Linked DNA regions of Homo sapiens: regions 1, 2, 4, 5, 6 and 7 are each linked to region 3. The links are contacts of gene promoters, found by promoter capture Hi-C in blood cells and fetal thymus (Javierre and others, 2016). All regions are on one chromosome and are shown on one strand. Each heading gives the region's core, a stretch centred on a gene start or on the middle of the fragment in contact. The rest is flanking DNA. Distances are from core to core; before and after follow the strand shown.

The links. Contacts are between HindIII fragments. The CHiCAGO score rates a contact against its expected background, and 5 or more counts as called.
Region 1: a contact is called between a fragment that was not itself captured here and the fragment with the promoter of ABCB5 in region 3, in 15 of 17 cell types (M2 macrophages, M1 macrophages, M0 macrophages and 12 more). The highest score is 17.3, in M2 macrophages.
Region 2: a contact is called between a fragment that was not itself captured here and the fragment with the promoter of ABCB5 in region 3, in 1 of 17 cell types (M1 macrophages). The highest score is 5.4, in M1 macrophages.
Region 4: a fragment that was not itself captured here is called in contact with the fragment with the promoter of ABCB5 in region 3 in 5 of 17 cell types (naive CD4 T cells, total B cells, M2 macrophages and 2 more); the score reaches 8.5 in naive CD4 T cells.
Region 5: a contact is called between a fragment that was not itself captured here and the fragment with the promoter of ABCB5 in region 3, in 15 of 17 cell types (M2 macrophages, total B cells, M1 macrophages and 12 more). The highest score is 35.3, in M2 macrophages.
Region 6: a contact is called between a fragment that was not itself captured here and the fragment with the promoter of ABCB5 in region 3, in 16 of 17 cell types (total B cells, naive CD4 T cells, fetal thymus and 13 more). The highest score is 35.2, in total B cells.
Region 7: a contact is called between a fragment that was not itself captured here and the fragment with the promoter of ABCB5 in region 3, in 1 of 17 cell types (total B cells). The highest score is 8.1, in total B cells.

What each region holds. Positions count from the first base shown.
Region 1 is chr7:19,731,168-19,733,867 of GRCh38, reverse strand. The region is part of intron 1 of TMEM196 (transmembrane protein 196); the gene reads left to right. The region is part of intron 1 of LOC107986774 (a long non-coding RNA gene); the gene reads right to left. Among named protein-coding and RNA genes, the nearest start is that of POLR1F, 23 kb to the right of the region's middle. The HindIII fragment of the contact is 2,102 bases long and covers 282-2,383 here.
Region 2 is chr7:19,810,714-19,813,413 of GRCh38, reverse strand. LOC107986774 (a long non-coding RNA gene) reads right to left here. Exons shown (of 5, transcript XR_001745112.2): 2 at 2,065-2,169; 3 at 16-584. Among named protein-coding and RNA genes, the nearest start is that of TMEM196, 38 kb to the right of the region's middle. The HindIII fragment of the contact is 5,704 bases long and covers 1-2,700 here.
Region 3 is chr7:20,614,277-20,616,976 of GRCh38, reverse strand. It overlaps ABCB5 (ATP binding cassette subfamily B member 5), which reads right to left and starts at 1,310. Exons shown (of 28, transcript NM_001163941.2): 1 at 1,140-1,310. The HindIII fragment of the contact is 15,833 bases long and covers 1,238-2,700 here.
Region 4 is chr7:19,693,961-19,696,660 of GRCh38, reverse strand. It overlaps POLR1F (RNA polymerase I subunit F), which reads left to right. Exons shown (of 4, transcript NM_001002926.2): 4 at 1-1,200. Among named protein-coding and RNA genes, the nearest start is that of MIR3146, 10 kb to the left of the region's middle. The HindIII fragment of the contact is 786 bases long and covers 1,043-1,828 here.
Region 5 is chr7:19,751,897-19,754,596 of GRCh38, reverse strand. The region is part of intron 1 of TMEM196 (transmembrane protein 196); the gene reads left to right. All of the region lies in intron 1 of LOC107986774 (a long non-coding RNA gene), which reads right to left. Among named protein-coding and RNA genes, the nearest start is that of TMEM196, 20 kb to the left of the region's middle. The HindIII fragment of the contact is 2,384 bases long and covers 66-2,449 here.
Region 6 is chr7:19,713,134-19,715,833 of GRCh38, reverse strand. No RefSeq gene overlaps it. Among named protein-coding and RNA genes, the nearest start is that of POLR1F, 5.4 kb to the right of the region's middle. The HindIII fragment of the contact is 2,662 bases long and covers 45-2,700 here.
Region 7 is chr7:19,662,668-19,665,367 of GRCh38, reverse strand. All of the region lies in intron 4 of LOC105375180 (a long non-coding RNA gene), which reads right to left. Among named protein-coding and RNA genes, the nearest start is that of MIR3146, 41 kb to the left of the region's middle. The HindIII fragment of the contact is 3,247 bases long and covers 1-2,700 here.

The sequences.
Region 1 (2,700 bases), core at 83-2,582, 880 kb after region 3:
GTGCGCCTGATCTCAGGTGTGGGGCTTTCTCAGTATTCTGTACCTTCCTTCCTGAGACAATTAAACTTAGCCTTATATCTGGGGTTGATCTTGGGCGAGAGGCTCCTGCCTCTTCTCCAATGGTCAATGTCCTCTACTTCGTATAGGCATAGGATGCCAGGCCCAAGATGAATTCCTGCCTCTCCCTCTGTATTTTTTTTTTTTTTTAAAAAAGGATCTTCTACTTTTCCTCCAGTTAGAGTGGCAATCTATATTTGAATAGGCCCTGGAAATGAGAAGCTTTGCTACCCTTCTGCCAGAAGCCTAAGCCTTTTGCTTCATAAAAAAGAAGGTCTAGGGAAGGAGCAGGGCTTTACACCTCCCTCAACACAAACAAATGTGTGATGACCAGTGTCTCTTCCTCCCTTACTCTGCAACAGGTGACATAGTGTCAGACCTTTCTTGGAGAAGATTTCCCTCTTTGAATTGAAGTTATCTCATTGTCTTGGAATCTCAACCAGCTCTCTGATGGGCTCTAAAATATCATTTCCTTACTGTAAGAGTGGAAATGACATCTTTGCATCTTTCTGTGTCCTAAGCAAAAGCAGAAACCTCCAAGGACTTTACATAAAGAAAATCCACTCAAAGTGTAAAATACTGTCTTCATAATCATGTCATTTCGTCCAACACGTCACAATCTTAGTTTTCTATTGAATATAATCTAAATTGGAATCAAATGAAGTTCGCTTGGAGGATGAACTAATTTTATTTTATTGTGTAGCACTAGATGCCTTATCATTAGATTGCTACATTTATATCATTTCACAGTAAGATCAACGCAAATAATCCTCCCTGGATTTAAACATCCCATCTTCTCACAAATAAAATCATATTTTCTCATGGTTCAGGCTTTACACATATGCACATACATACAGCTATCAGCTTTACTTTTTTAGCTAATTTGTTTTTTACTTGCTTAATAATTGCCATGATGTGGGTAAGTGCTTTGCATCCTGGATAAAGTTATGTTGAACAAAAGAAAGTGTATTTTGAAATATTATAACAAATTCCTTTATAAAATAAGATGCATTTAATTTTAGAATGTAACACAATTGACTGATGTTCTTATTATTTTGATTACATCAGAAGTTATATCATAAATTAACAATGGTCTTGCAGTTGTAGGTGAGTAGGTATTCATTGAACACTTCTAGTTGGATTTGCTAGTATAACCTACACTGAACTAACACACACAAAAAAAAAAAACTCTAAAAATCACTTCCATTCCGTTTTTTTTTTTTTTGTTTTTTTTTTTTGAGATGGAGTCTTGATCTGTCACCCAGGCTGGAGTGCAGTGATGCGATCTCGGCTCACTGCAAGCTCCGCCTCCTGGGTTCAAGTGATTCTGCTGCCTCCCCCTCCAGAGTAGCTGCGACTACAGGTGACTGCAACCACGCCCGGCTAATTTTTGTATTTTTAGTAGAGACGGAGTTTCACCATATTGGCCAGGCTGGTCTCAAACTCCTGACCTTGTGATCCGCCCACCTCAGCCTCCCAACATGCTGGGGTTACAGGTGTGAGCCACCATGCCCAGCCCATTATTAAAAACAAATTAATTTAGACACTTAATAAAGTCTTAAATTAGATGTGTGATTTCTGACCTTGATGTGTTACCTTGAGCAAGTCACTAACTCTCTGGACCTCTCTGGACCATGTCCCCACGTGTAAACTTCGAGGGATTAATTAAATCATCTTTTAAGATCTCTTCCAGTATTATGACTTGTGGTAAATAAAGATAGCCAATGAAATAAAATATCAATTTACTACTTTGGGGGCCTCTTTTTCTCTTTTCTATAAACTGTGGTGGCTAAATTTCAACCAAGATCTTTTAGATCCTCCTCATAAATCCCATGATTTCATATACTTCCTGTTACATGTGTCCACTTTTTCTCAGGTTACAGCTTTTCTCTAGGACATGTGATTTTGGATACTCTAACAGAAGTAACAGTTGGAGAGTATTTACATTCATCTGCTGAAAGTAGAAAAAATATTGATTGATTCCTCCCCTACTCTCCCTTCCCTCTCCCAATCCTTGAATTCACATTTCTTAGCTCCATCCAATTGAAGTGAGATAATACAAAATAGCAAATTTATTGCCACCTAGATGTTCTAACCAAATGGTTGGATGGAGAACTCTGCTTATGCTCCTGACCACCTCTTGGGCTTTACTGTAAATGAATAATGGCAGTGTTTACAGATTTCAAAACAGATGCAAGGAACACAAAACTACACTGCTTTCAAATTCTTTTCGAATGAGTTCTGGATAAATGGGACTTTCAGGATGAAAATGGGGTAGTCAGGGAAACTTAAGGAGAAGAGTATGCTTGAGCTTTGATCTGAAGCTTGAAGCACTGAAAGGTACAGAATTGGTCCAAACTGGAATTTCTTGAGCACTGCCTTCAAAAATGTGAGATGAAATTAGTAACAGAAAGAGTCCATAAGAGGACATGATCATCTACACTTAGGACACAGTGGGTGGTGAGAAACGGTCACTCTGAAATAGCTTTTTAAGGCTACTGAAAATTATGCAAGTATTCAGGTTTTATAAAGTTCTGAGTTTCTATCTTCTCATGGTTTTATAATACTAAAAATATTTTATTAGATCTATTTCTAAAGTATGTTAACTATTTGGCTATCATATACTTTCCGAATATAATCCCA
Region 2 (2,700 bases), core at 106-2,605, 800 kb after region 3:
AAAAAAATTCCTTACCTTCCTTCTAGCTGGCAGGCATACAGTACCACGTGGCAAAGATACAGAGAAGGTGGGCTTGAGACTCGGCTCCATCTTTCTCCTCAGTAGCAAAGGTCAGGCTGCCTTTTACAACAAAGCACCACAGCTGACACAACCCCTCCTCCTCTCCCAAACCAGTCATTCCAATTGGCTCCGGCCAGAAGGCAGAAAAGCTACTTCTAGCCTCTCCTGGGAAGAAATAGTTGTGTTTTTTGTTTGTTTGTTTGTTTTTTGTTTTTCTTAAATAAGTAACTCCATTGTTTTTCTCTTTTCCAAGATGGCTGATGTTCTGGTTTCTACGAAGTCGGTGCTTACTTAGGTCACTAACACCACTGCTGTTGGTGGCTGCAGCTGCTGCCGTGGCAGGATTTTCAATGTGGTCTGTTTTCAAGCATCACTCATTTATCCTCTCATTCCCAAACATTCAGCATCCTTGCACACTCCTCACTTATATTTTAGCTCACCTCTTCAGGGAGATTGTGTTCTTAATTGTGATGTGATTAGATTTTTTATTACAGTCTGCATTCCATCCTGGATCCCATGAATTCCTAAATAATTTTAATTAGAAACAACAAAAACAGATATATCAGCCTTGGCAACATAGAGAGACCTATCTCTACAAACGAATTTAAAAATTAGCCAGGTGTGGTGGCACATGCCTTAGCTACTCAAGAGGCTGAGGTGAGCAGATTGCTTAAGCCCAGGTGATCAAGGTTACAGTGAACTATGATCGTGCCACTGCACTTTAGCTTGGGTGACAGAGTGAGTGCCCATCTCTAAAATAAATAATTTTAAAATAATAAGGTAAAATAGAATTATGTACATTAAGGTATGATCTTGGTGCTGTAAAGTTGTATGAGTTTTGAAAAATGCACAGTTTCATATACCAACTGCTATAGTATAATTCCAAATACTTTTACCACCCCCAAATCGCCCATGTTTCACATATTAAACCCCGAGCTCCTCCTGCAGAACTTCTGACAATCACTGTTCTTTCTACTGTCTGTCTCTATAGTTTTGCTTTTTCCTAAATGTCACAAACTCGGAATCATATAGTATATATTCTTTTCTTACTGGGTTCTTTAAGTTTGAATATACATTTAAGGTTCATCTATATCATTTGTGACTTGATAGGCGTGATGATTAATTTTATGTGCTCACTTGACTGGGCCAGGGGGTATCCAGATATTTGGTCAAACATTATTTTAGATTTTAAGATGATATTAACATTTAAATAGGTAGACTGTAAATCAGGTTTCCCTCCCTAATATGAGTGGCCCTTATGGCAATCAGCTGAAGGCCTAAATAGAACTACAAGTCTGACTCTTCTATCAGTAAGAGGGAACTCCTCCTGCCTATAGTTAAAAACAGTCAATGCAAACAGCTGGAATGACAAAAACTGAATTGATAACCAAAACTCTTCATTAATGAAATGAAATAGTGTTAGCCAGATTGTGATGAGGTATATGATACCACGGTCCCCACATTCATGATGTGAGAGTTTGCTGAAGCCTCAAGCCCAAGCATCCAAGTTCAAAATTTGGAGTCTTCAGGAAACCTTCCCTCTCAGGTCTGGCTGCTATCTCATTAAGAAGATTTTAATTTATCTTGCTCATGTGAATACCATTCACCAGCTCTTCCTAAATTGGATATTAGCAGTTTCCTTAGTGCAGCAGAACTATTGTGCTGAGCAGAAAGAAGGAAATGCAAAATGTGAAGTTCAGAAACTAATTTTCAGTCTTGCCAATTGGGTCTCCAACTCCCACGACAGTAGTAACCATTTCTACACCTGGATGTCATTAAATTCATGTTGTTCTTCATGCCAAAATGAAATCAGAGCTTAACATGGACAGTAAACACCTGGGACAAAATTGCTGAAATGTTTTCACATAAGAAAAACCAAAAACAATCAAATAAAAACTGCCTATGGCCTTTGCTCTACTGCCAATACTTTTAATTCAGTAGGAAGAGGTAGGTTCTACCACTAAGATACTCTTCATTAAAATGAAAAGAAAATTAAATAACTACCTTATGAATTTGATCTATGTAGGCAGAGAATATTCTAGCTGAGTAATACCTTCAATGGCAGGGCAGAAACACTGTCCTTAATGTGTGTTTATTACCAACATTTACCTGGAAAAAATAGAATGTATATAAATGAGTATATTTTCCAGTTTTTCTCTCTCATTCTCTAAATGATGGTGTTCTCAATCAGGGGAAAAACTGTGTCTGGGGAAATACAAGAATCTTAAAAGTAAGTAGAGCCTGTTCTTTATGTTCAATAAAGTACATTCAAATTAAACAATTATAATTTTGAAAAAAAAACTATTGCTTTTTTAAATGCAGTAATGCTCAATAAAGCATACCCTATCCCCTTTACAGGAGGATATATCAAAATCTCCTGGGGGGAAAGCATAATATTTTTAGATCATAATAATATGCAGACAAGGGTTTAAAAAGATCTAAAATGTTTTACTGCAAAATATGGCTATTTCTAAATGGCACTTCTTTTCGTAATTAGACATATTACATTTTGCATGTTTTACAAGGACCTTCAACCTTTTAAAAGAACTATGGTCTAAATATTACCATAAACATTGCTCAAACCATTTGAAAATTCTCATCTTCAAAAAGCTAATGTAACTGACAAGCAGGATAAGAAAA
Region 3 (2,700 bases), core at 61-2,560:
ATTATAAAAGGAGGTTGCTATATAAAGATCAAAAAGACTATCCCAGGCAGAAGGAATACTATTTAGATAGTAGAGAAAAGTGCACTGAGACAAAGCGACACAAGGTCAAAGCAATTTGTGAGCCAGTTGGCAGGTCCTCACTGTATGGAAAGCTACAGGTTGACTATGATGGCTGCCCCCATGTTCCTCTCTGTTACCCAATGTTTCAAAAGGAAGATAAATTTAACTTGAAACTTGTCAAGTTTGAGATATTTGTGAGATAATCAGGTAGTAATATCCAGCACTAAGTAGATAACATGAGAGAAGAACTCTGAACATCTTAATTGCTCTACACAAAATCTATCAGTCAGCCAATTCTTACTTATTGACAGCTGTGTGGATGCTATCATGGCAAGTACTATGGAACATACAAGAAAATGTAAAAATAGACAGAATATTTTATTTATAAGGACTTTTGCCTTAAAAAATATTTCTAGGTTCATGTACCAAGATGGAAATCATAGGACAAAATACCCATGTGAGAAGAAATCATGAGATGCACTTAACGTTCAAGCATCCTTGGTAAGAATAATCTGACAAATAGCTAAGATATACTGGTTGGATGGAAAACATGGGATCTTTGGTTAGATGAAAGAAGATATGGCTGGGCGCAGTGGCTCATGCCTGTAATCCCAGCACTTTGGGAGGCCAAGGCGGCTGGATCATCTGAGGTCAGGAGTTCGAGACCAGCCTGTCCAACAAGGTGAAACCCCATCTCTACTAAAAATAAAAAAATTAGCTGGGCATGGTGCTGGGCACCTGCAATCCCAGCTACTCAGAAGGCTGAGCCAGGAAAATCTCTTGAACCCTGGAGGCGGAGGTTGCAGTGAGCCAACATCGTGCCACTGCACTCCAGCCTGGGTGACAGAGTGAGACCCTGTCACAGGGAAAGAAAGAAAGAAGATATGAATTGTATGGATGCTTTAAAATGACCAAAATAATAGTAGGATGATCATTTCTGACTATGAAAAAGTTTCATACACACACATTTTTGTTTCCATCTTTACCACAAACTATTCTTTCTAAGATGGAGAAGTGTTTTATATTCTTCACAAGCTTCAATTGTTTTCATAATCTCTAATACTTTTGCTTTGACTTACTTTAATTCCTTAGATGCTGTTTTGAGTGGGCCCCATCCAGTCAGTTGAAGTCCTTAAGAGAAAAGACTGAAGTCTTCTGAAGAGGATAGGATAAAGCTTTCAGATACAAGGTATCAATTTTTTGCCAGAATTTCCAGCCTTCTAGTCTGGCTTGTGGATTTTGGAAGTGCCAGTCACCACAATTACATGAGCGTGTTTTCTCTTTCTCTCTCTACATACACACACACACACACACACACACACACACACACACACGGCCTATTGATTCTATTTCTCTAGGGGAACCTAATATACCTGGCAAGACAGACGTTATGTGATGAATAGTACAAAGAGTGACTATTCTAGTATCTAAGAAGACTGAGGAAGAACATTGTGATCTAAAATGGTTTCGCCCACAGATGAGGATGGCCCTGAGGTTAGTTTCTGGAGGAAGGCTAAGGTTTCAGTAAGTAGAAAAATGTGGAGGAGGAACAAGGGCATAGTTTTAGGAATGCAAGGTGAATTATCTCATGGTAGAGAAATGAGAACGGTTTGGATAGGATGGACTGTTCATGCAGAAATGGAGAGAGAGATAAGGTACATACGATTGTAAAAGGCACTGAACCAATTTTTAGGACAACTTTTATAATTTTCTGGAATGAAAGAGACAAAGCCATTGGTATTTGGTACAATTAACCTGATTATTTGACATTACAGCCATGGATATACTGGAAGGACTTGGGGAAACACAAGATTTAAGTAGACTCATTAAAATCTAGTTTGATAGCAGTAAGTAAGACTATTTGAGAGGTATTTTTAAGGCGGTAGGTAGGTAAAGAGGACAAGGAAGAAGAAATAAAAAAAATATAAGTTCAGCGATCAAACTTTTAAAAGTTGTAACAAAAGAGTAGTAAAGATGGTAATAGAGAAGTTATGAGACAGAATTGGTTTTGGGGAAATGGTAACATTCAGTTTAAATATGCAAATTTGGGTTGATATTGGTGTCCAAGTGAAAATATCTGGCAAACAGATGTAAATGTGGCACTAATAATTAGGAAAATTGCCAACCTAGAGATAAACTTGCAATTGTCATATGCACAGAAGGAATAATTAATTTTGCTTTAAAAATCTCATGATGTCATCTAAATGCACAGAAGTGGTGTAATGTAGCTAAAAGTGTTACTTCTAGAGCAGAGCCATCCAACAGAACTTTCTGCAATAATTGAGATATTCTCCACACATCCAATATCCTAGCCGCTACACATATGTGGCTATTGAGCGCTTTTAATGTGCCTAGTGAGGGAGCTGAATTTTGAGTTTTATATAATTTTAATTAATTTATTTTATTTATTCAGCTTTAATATGTATAATTGACAAATACTATTGTCTATATTTAAGGTTTACAACATGATGATGTGATATACATATACATTGTGAAATGATTACTGCAATGAGCACATCCATCACTTCACATATTTACGTGTTTGTGTGTGTGCGTGTCTGGTGAGAACGCTTAAGATCTACTCTCTTAGCAAATTTCAAATATACAATACAGAATTATTAACTGTAGTCACCATCCTGT
Region 4 (2,700 bases), core at 186-2,685, 920 kb after region 3:
GCTATTTTAAAGGAAGTATGAGTTGAAAAAAAATTGAAATAAACTATATCATATTACTAGGACTTAATATAGTGGCATACCCAGGAAATGCTTAGTAAGTGTTCCCTTCACATTTTAAAATTTGAGTATACAATCATGTTTGACAATATAGAAATTTAATTTTTAGTGAAACAATTCTAAACCCCTTTTCCATAGACACAAGAAAGATGGCAAATTTATGCTATTCCTGGAAAAATACATTGTGGCTTAGCAAATAAGCAAGTTCCCACGTTACTTTTGTTTTGCTTCAAGTAATACTTCTGCCAGTTGTGTTTTATGAATTAAACAGGGAACGGCATGCTGAACTTGAAACTAGATTTGTTCCTGCTTTTTTCACAATGTGAGTAGTTTTGAAAAGTCAGATCTGGCCATTTGTCTTTCCTAGAATAGCATAACTTTGTTCATTGTTTTTTTTGTTTGTCTTTCTGACACAGAAAGACTGATGATGGTGTCCACTATGTATTCTTCAAAACATTTGGCACATGCTGCACTAACCTAGTCTATCTTTTCTATCTTGGAATTTGCTCATACAAACCCTATAGCCTAGACTAGATCCCTTACCCTCTCTCCAGTTCCTATCATTCACCCATTTCACTGTGCAAGACACCTCACTAGTCACCAGTGATACAGAAATGACTTTTAAGCAGTTTCTGCTCTTAAGGGCTTACCGTTTTGTCTATAAGATACACAAGTATAAATGACAAGTACAAATAACAATGAATGTTTAATGCTTTACGTTTAGTGTTTAAGCTTGTTGTTGGAAGAGCAGCATTTTGACCCTTGGAGAAGAAAAACTAGCTGTGGCATTCCAGGTGGAGAACCTGACAGAGGACTAAGAAGTTATCTAATGTAAAAGACCTCAGGCACCACCTTCGCATAAACTTTTTCCAGACAAGGCTAAATGTGCATGCTTCATAACCATAATTCTTATTTTTCTTTAATAAATATTTTTCTACTTGTAACACTGTGCATTATTTCAAACTGTTTACCTGTTTGTAAAGCTTGTCTCTTAATCAAATTTGTCTTGACCAAATAAGTTTCCTGAGGGCTGGAATTATGCCTTAACTATATCTATAGTATTTAACAGTGAATCCTTTGTATAATGAAAGCATCAACAGATAATTTTAAATTGATAAATAAAAAGCACAGTTTCAAATGGTATCACTTGGCCTCTGATGTGATATTATTATTTTCACTTGTTTCAATAAATGCATCTTTTTTTTTTTTTTTGGCCTATATGTAATGTGGTTTTTAAGCACTTTTATCACTTTAGTGTGTCAGGGATAGAATACTTAAAAATGACAGAAATTTGATCTCTTTTAATTTGTTTTATACATTCACCACATGGGTCATCTTTGCCTTTTTTTCTCAAAAAGTAGATATTTTGTTACAAAATCAATATATATTTGTTTAAAAATTCATATAGTAAAAGTATATACATCTTCCCACTCTACCAGTCATTGATCTCCCTCCCTATTCCTCCCCACACCACACACACCCACTTGGCAATTCTGCTTCCAGAAATAACCACTATTGTCAATTCCATGTGTAGTTTTAGAGATTTTTAAGTAGTGAATTTTAAAATGTTTTAAGACATGGAATCAAACTACCTGCACTTTTTGGGTCTACTCTATTTTATAGTAAATGTCTTCCCATATGAATATATAGAGGTCTTCCTATTTTTAATGTTTGCAGAATTTCAGTGTATAATTTATTTCATTTCCCAAGGATAGATATTTAGGTTTGTATTTTCCCTCTTAAAAGGGTATTGTTAACATTTCTAAAAGCTTTCATTGTTAGTTTAATTGCTTATTTCCAGCTGTATTGTACATTGTGACTTCCAAAGGTAAGCTCTGATTCCTACCTTTAGAAATGGAGGTATTTCAGGGGGCCAGTACATAGTTCAGTTTTAAAAAATATTCTTAAAAAATATTCTTTAGGCACTTGAAATGAATAGTTATTTTTTAAGTAGAAAAACACTTTTAAAATAGATTTTATATATCATACAGTGAGAACAAAATTGAAAAATAATGGATAATTCTGCACATTATGTGACTTTTTGTGGTATTTTTCCTGGACAATTCATGGAAAAGTTCAACCCATCTTCAACTCAGAATATCACTGGCTCTCCTTACTAAACATAAAGATCTTCAGATGTTTGGTCTAAACTCTTTTCTCATCCAAATCTCCGCTTTGGCAGTAGGAACTAACTTCATGGCATCATTTTGTCTTCTACTTCTTTGAAATAAATATTTGGTACACTGAATCACCTTAAAGCCCAGTTGTTTTATCTGAATGCTAGACTTGTTCCTACTTACTCACATTGATTTGATAACTCGTCCTGAATATGTTTGAAAATTTTTAGTAAGACAAAAATTTAGTAAGTTATAAAATTGGAGTAAATAGGGGGGAAAGGCAGAATCAACAAACCTAAGTCTACAACCAGGATTTCAATAGCAAATAAGCTGCAGTCTGTATAGTTGTAGGTAATTAGTTCCACATTCATTGGCTATAATTAGAAAATGCTCCGGCACTTATTGAGTCACAGAAAAACAAGGACACATGAAATACCTCGTCCATTCTTAGTAAACAGCTGGAAATAGAAGCTAAAAGCCGTCAAAGAGGACCATAATTTAGCATTTAAAAGTAGAATGCATTAGT
Region 5 (2,700 bases), core at 8-2,507, 860 kb after region 3:
TTTCATCAAAACCTGCACTCTGGCAACAACACACTTCAAACAATGCTCACGATGTATTGCAAGCTTTCAGATTACTTGTAAAAGATTCCCATCTGTATTCTACTGATTAGAGTTGTAATTATAATATTAACATTTAATCATATTCTCTTTTTGGAAATTCTGATGATTTTTTTCATCTGCTTCCAGTGAATCAATTTGACAAATAATTATTGGGCTAACTTTGAATGAAGCACTTGGCTGAGAATTTGAATATAAATAATAGACTGGACTCTGGATCCAAGGGCTTTAGAGTTGTTAGAAGAAACATACCTGCAAACAATAATAGATAGCGAGCACTTGAATTCTTCCAAGTGACTTATACCTACAATTTTATTTAACATTTACAGCTATTCTATGAAGTGTACACTGTTATGCATCTCAGTAAAGAGGAAACTGTGGAAAAATAAGTAACTTTCTCAAAGCCACACAGCCAGAAAATGGGAGAGCCATGATGCAAACCCAGTCAGTATGACTCCAGAGTAGTCATTCCTTATCACTAAGCTACACTACCTCCTACTCAATCCACATAAATATAGTTCAATACACAATAAAGTGTATGCAAATCCTGTGGATGCACAAGGAAGGTGAAGAGGGTCATAGATGACTTCATGAAAGATGTGCCTTCGGTGGCAAACCTGGAAAAACAAAGTAGAGAGAGCTTGAAAAGAGAGGAGGAGAGATATTCCAAACTCGTGGAGGCAAGGCCTATGAGAGCTTGAGAATGGCCAAGAGAATGTTGGTTTCTAAGCACAGAATGAACAGAAAGAAGGGAGCTTGAAGAGGTAGGCTTGGTCCAACTATGAGGAACCTGAGTATTAGACTATAGGATTTGAAGCCTTCTTCTTTAGAAATGAACAGGTACAAAAAATGTTTGAGGATAAGGGAGACTAGAATCAATTTATTTTAAGAATAATCACCTAGGGAATAGTGTGAAGAATTAGAGGCAGGGGGATTGTGTATGCCTTTAATATTAAAATTAAGAGTCAGAATGAAGGGAACACCAAGAGCAATGGAATTACGTGAAAAATTATAGATGCAGATTCGACAAGACTTCATGGGAGTCACGCTTTTAAAAACATGGGTTGAAAAGATTGGCAATTAAGTCGGACTTTCTGCCTGGGTTAAAGAGAATGAACATGTGCTGAGATCAGAAAAACAAAAATGAAGGCAGGTTTGGGAAGGGGTAAGAAAATGAGTTTAGATAAATTGTACCTCTTTGATTTATTCTGAGTGGGAGTAGGGTGCTGGTGGTGGTTATAACATAGAATAAAAAATAGACTTCTCTTTAAAGTGCTTAAGGGGTAGTAACAGAGATAATAAGCATATAAATATTTATGAGTCAAAACGTAATAAGCCACATAAAAAAGGTACTCTGAGAATTAGGAGAAAAAGATGGGATTTTATCTGAGCAGAGAATTTCAGATGGACCCTGGAGAATAGTAAGAATAAGAATAAAACTGTCCAAGAAGAGAAGTAGAATATGCAAAAAGGGATAAACTGAGAGTGTACAGAATAATTTAAGTGCACTTTGGCTGTAGAAGATCCACAGTAGACCAGTTGTCAAATTGGCTTGGAACCATCCATTTGGGCCCTGATGCCAGGCCAAGAAATTTGGAGAGACATTGATTTTAAAAATTGAACAAAAAGGCCGGGCGGGTGGCTCATGCTTGTAATCCCAGCACTTTGGGAGGCTGAGGCAGGTGGATCACGAGGTCAGGAGTTCGAGACCAGCCTGACCAACATGGTGAAACCCTGTCTCTACTAAAAATACAAAAATTAGCCAGGCGTAGTTGTGCGCACCTGTAGTCCCAGCTACTCGGGAGGCTGAGGCAGGAGAATCGCTTGAATCTGGGAGGCGGAGGTTGCACTAAGCCAAGATCGGGCCACTGCACTCCAGCCTGGGTGACAGAGCGAGATTCCATCTCAAAAAAAGAAAGAAAGAAAGAAAGAAATACATAAAATTAAATTAAAAAAATTGAACGAGAAAATAAGGCACTAATAAGGTGCTAAAAATCATACTAGGAATGAACTTAGAGTGAGTGATATTAGAGAAACTAAAGGCAGAGGGACTCGCTCAAAAGCCCTTAAATAATCCTGTTAAGGGCTGGTGAGGCCTTGAATAAAAGCTAAATTTCACTGTGGATATAAAAGTAATGGCACACTGTAATTAATGTGATGAAAATGACGTAGGAGGAGAGGGGAATCAATAGTGTCTTTGAGTTTTGAGAGAACAGTAATAAGAGTAATAGACACAGGAAAAGTGGTGAGTGGAAACAGGATTGAGATTCATGTTTTGAGTCTGAAGCTGACAATGTAAGTCTAGATCTCTTTCATTAACTGCTGTGCATCTGGCTACATGCACACTGAATTGCAAAATGATTGTAGGCTGAGCCAAAACTAGACATAAGCTTTTATGATGACCAACATCTTATGTTATTCTTTAGTTTCTTGGAGCATCGACACAATCTGAATATAACATTATGCTTTAAAACATGACATTCAGAAACAAGTATGATTGGTAGCATTTCGAAGACTTCCTTTGGAGTAAATAGAAATTAATACACAATTATTTTCCAGAAGACAGTCCACTTACAATCCTTGAAATCTTGTTAATTGTAGCTTAGTGTATTAGGGCCAGAGGTTGCAGAGAACAATGGTACT
Region 6 (2,700 bases), core at 126-2,625, 900 kb after region 3:
CCCTGCACTTGAACCTGAGACTTCATCTCTCCAGTTGTCAAGCTTTGACAGCTACCTTCAGTCATTTCACTCTAGGCACTTGAGTTTGTTTAACAAAACTCCCTACTCCTGAATCAGCCAATTGAAATCCAGCTTTAGTCACTGAGGCAGCAGCAGCTAGTGAGAGAAGCGACTGTTTTAGTCACCTGGCCAGCAAGTATGTACACATATTGAAAATAGGAATTCAAAGAAAGGATTTCAGCCAACTGAAAGAAAACTTGAGCTCCATAAACCTTGAATATAAAGAGGATGGAAAATCTAGGAGGTCATTGGAGACAGGCAGAAAGCTGTAACAGAAACGGAAACAAGATCACTTTTCCCCTAGGCTTTATTGATAAGGTGCTTGGACCTGTAGGCTATAGAGAAAACTAATTTGGTCATGAAAAAAATTATGCCCTTATATTAAAGATATGTTCATTTCTGGTAGGCTCTGGTGTTTTTTTTGTCCTACTTTTAAACATCCAGTTTAGTCTATTCGACTGTGCCAAAGATTTCAGGAGAAAAGGTTTTTTTCAAGCGGAGTTAATACTGTCAGTATCACCCTAAAGCCAATATGGTACAAGAAAACAGGAATCACAACAAAGAATATCAAGGCAAAGTGAGACACAAAGAAATCGAGTAGCTTTCTTTTATTCATTAGTCTTTCATTTTATTCATTAGTCTATCCTACTCAGTGCAAATTTTGGACTTTCAGATATTTTACTAACAACTGTGGCCTTAAAGTAATGACTTAATTTGTAAATTCCTGCAGGGCATTTTTCACAACTGGGCAAGTTCACTTTGCCATTGGACAACGATAAATTCATAACTATAATAATTTCCAAAGCATAGGTGTATTAAGCACCCTGTAGCTGTAACGGGAAGTCTAGAATATGATACATTAATATAAATTGTGTTTGGGCACTTCAGAGTAAATTGTGTATCAAAAGGCACTGCATCTAAATTTCATTTTTTTAATTACCACCCTCAAACTTTCCGTACCACATTCTTCGGAACTATTTAATGTCAAGAATCTTGGAGTTCACATCTACACAGTTTCTGCAGTCAGCAAGTGCTTTATTAAACTACAGCATTAAAGTAATCTTCAAAATATAAAAAAGAAAACTGTTTTCTATTTCTATTCTGCACTGAGCAAAAGACAGGTGGAAGTAAATGAGAATTTCCACAGTCACCCTTGCAAGCATCACAGCCAATTGTATTAGCTTAATTCACTGGATTTGAAAAACTTGAAAGGAGGATGTTGAAATTTGATTGCAGAAAGGTCTGATTAGAGAGGAAATAGGGCTTAGAAGAAATACTAACACTAGTTTTTGTAAGAGGACAATAAATACAGATGGCATCTTGTCCTCCTAAAGTAGACTCACCCCCTTGAGATACCTTGTTTACCTCTTCCCAACCTCTAGAAGCAGTCATCAGTGCTCACATCTACATGTACGCAGACTCGTACACACTCACACACCTCAAATTTATTTTATTATTTAAGCTAATCCTTTCTAGCTGACATCTTTCATCCAAAGTGCTAGGCAGTTGCCTTCTTGGCTTTTACCTAGATAGATAATTGTAACATCAGGAGCTAAAAAATTGGCATGACTTTATTTAGGTCCATATTTCAAAGCTCAGGTTTAAACGATATGTGTGTGTGTGTGTGTGTGTGTGTGTGTGTGTGTGTGTGTGTGTGTGTATGTAATATAATGTGCTCTGTTAATATATTTCCTCATTCTCTTTAGGCACATGTGTATCATGTAGTGTCAACAATCTAACAAGCAAGTAGAAGGAGCCTTCAGAGTCAAAAATTTATCCTAAGTTCTCTGTTGAAGAAGGATTGTAGATAAAAACAAGCCATCAATAAAGTTTCCCTTCACTTTTGTCATTTCTACAGTCCTTAAGCTAAAGCAAAACTTTACAAATTTAAGCTCATTTTTGCCATCTGCTGGCAAATTTGTGAAACACAAGTGGTCTGCATCAACAAACATTTGGTTGATATACCCTGTATTATATATATTTCGGCTAAAACTGGTGCTTGTTTGACACCTTTCCAATCCTACTAAAATGTTAATATTTACCAATTTGGTCAAATATCTTACCTTAGCACTTTTCTAGGCAGAGACTAAATAAAATAAACCATCAATTTTTACAATTTCCTTCTTCATCAGTTTTTGATATAGACATAGAAAAAGTGAGGATCTTTAGTGATTCAAAGCATAAATTATGGGATAACTCATGCCTGGGTTAGATTCCTTTATTGATAAATCGCTGGGTATTCTTGGGAAAGTCATTGGTTCATTCACTCAAGGAGTATGCATTAGGCCCTGGGCATATGACTGTTAGCAATACAGAGAGGATAGCTACCATCATGAGGCTGACATTTCTTTTAGAATACAGGCTTCTCGCTTGTAAATATATGTCATTAGTGTAATCAATTCATAAAGATTATCTGTCAGTGATTTACCTAGGGCACTTGGCATAGCATCTGGCAGGTTTGTAGTAAAGTTTACCTGTGATAATGTTGGTCATTGTGATGTTGACACTCATCACTCATTCCACCAATTTGATATAAACAGTCATATAAGTGTGATTAAATCCTTCCTGTCAGTACTAGTATTGCTCTTTATCCAGGGTGGGCATTCCTAGGGACGTATATACCCCTGATATATGACAGAA
Region 7 (2,700 bases), core at 48-2,547, 950 kb after region 3:
TGACATAAGTCTTGAAATGATATTTAACTTTCATATATCTTTTTCCTCAAAGGCAGGAGTGTCATAGCCTACTGTTTAGATAATTTACTTCTATTTTGTATATATGCATTAATTGTGATAATGTAGTCTGTGCTGAAGAGCATTCATTGAATTCCATTACATTGTTTTGAAATGACGGCTGTGCTACTGAATTGCTTTAGAATCATGCTGAAAACTTACCAGAACAAAATTTTTTATTGACACTAAATAATTTCTAGCTGAGGTACAGTCAAAGGAAATCCTTCAATTACTCGATGCTGCTTTTAATTCAGAGCAAGCAGATGATCTCCCCAGAAGCTAAGGCTACTTGCAGGAATTTTTATGGATTTAACGGTCATGAGATTACATCTCTCTGACATCTCTCTGCCTTACCACTCTTGTTTGTAACTCTACAGGCTAATGGCAGGGGCTATGATAGGTAGCAACATAGATATAACAGAATCACAAATGACAGTTATTTATGAATGTGAAGAATGCATGCTTAAATAGTATCCAGTGGCTCACCTCTCAGACCTCTATGAGAAGACAAATGAAATGTTTGAAGTGCTGCACATGACTTAGACCAAAATGTCTCATATTCTCATTCAGACATATCTATTTTTTAAAAAAAATTTCAACTTTTGAACATTGGATGAAGAAGTAAAAAAGAAAAAGAGGATTTTTCCTAGCTCCTCAGCCCACCCCCAGCATGTATACAAAGCTAAGATTAAGACAGTAAAAAGACAAATTCTAATTTGGAAAGGTAAGGATGACATTTAAAGCCATTATTTCAAAATCAAAGAGATGTTTAATTTTTCTTTTTATAATTGCTGAATAGTAAGACACCAAACAGTTTATGTTTAGACCAAATTGTACTTTTTCACTGATGTGCAGTTCAAATAACATACAGTAAACCATTTTAAGTTGTACAATGCAGTGGCATTTAGTGTATTTGAAATGTTTTGCAACTACTTCCTCTTTCATTTTCAAAACATTACCACCTCAAAAAACACCTTGTAGCCATTACATGATCACTCAATATTCTCTGCTTTCTCTGTCCCCTAGCAACCAGAAATCTGCTTTCTGTCTGCACGAATTTGCCTCTTCTGTATATTCCATTAAAAAGACATAATATATAACCTTTCAAATCTGGCTTCTTTCATTTAGCATAATGTTTTCAAGGTTCATGCATGTTATAGCATGTGCCAGAATTTCATTCCTTTAAGGCTGAATAATATTCTATTGTATGTATATTACCACATTTTGTTTACATTCGTCTGCTAATGGACATTTGGCTTGCTTCCACCTTTTGTCTATTGTAAATAATGTGGCAATGAACATCGGCAAACAAAAACCTGTATCCTAGAAGTGGAATTGCTAGATCATATAGTAATGTTATATTTAGATTTTTGAGGAGCAGCCAAATCGTTTTGTACAATGGTTGCTTCATTTTACATGTCTACCAGGAATGTATGAGGATCCCAATATCTCTGTATCTTTGTCAATACTTATCTTCTGTTAAACAATTATATAATTCCTAATAGTTGTGAAGTGGTATCTCATTATGGTTTTGTGTTTTCTTAATGACTAATTATGTTGAACGTCGTTTCATGTGCTATTGGTCATTTGTATTCTTCCTTGAAGAAATGTCTGTTCAAGTCCTTTGTTCTGTTTTTAATTAGATTGTCTTTTTGTTGCTGAGTGTTAGGAATTCTTTGCATATACTGGATATTAAACCCTAATCAGATATGATTTGCAAATATTTTCTCCAATTCCGGAGGTTGTCTTTTCACTTTCTTGGAACTGTCCTTTGATGCACACAATTTTTTATTTTTATGAAATCCAACTTATCTTTTGTTGTTGTTGTTACTTGTGCTCTTGGTGTTAAATCTATGAATTCATTGCCAATTAGAAGTCATCAATTATTACTCCCAATGTTTTCTTCTAATAGTTTTAGAGTTTTGACTCTTGCATTTTGGTTGTTTTTCCATTTTGAGTTTGCATATGAAGTAAGGTAGGAGTCTAACTTAATTCTATAACATGTGGTTGCCCTGTTGTCTCATCACGTTATGGCAAGGAACTATTCTTTCCTCATTGAATGATCTTGGCACCTTTGTTAAAAATCAATTGTCCATAGATGTTCAGGTTTTCTTTGGGACTTTCAATTCTAGTCCATTGATGTAGATTTGTATCCTTATGCCAGTATCACATTGTTTTGAATACTGTAACTTTGTAGTAAGTTTTAAATCAGGAAGTGTGAATTCTTCAAGTCTGTTTTTCCCTTTATATATCATTTTGGCTATTTGGGGGTCCCTTGAAATTTCATGTGATTTTTGGAACTGGCTTTTCCATTTCTGCAAAAAAAAGGCAATAGGAATTTTGATAGAGATTGCATTGAATCTCTGTATCACTTTGTGGATATCTGTTGCCATCTTAACTGAATTAAGTCTTTCAGTCCATGAACACAGGGTGTCTTTCCATTTATTTAGGTCTTTAATTTCTTTCAGGAATATTTTGTCATTTTCAGTATATAAATCTTGCACCCCATTGTTTAAATTTCTTCTTTGGTATTCTTTTGGATGCTAATGTAAATATTATTATTTTCTTTATTTGACCTCAGATTGTTTATTGTAGGTGTAAAGAAACACAGATTTTTTAATAATGATCTTATAACACAACTTT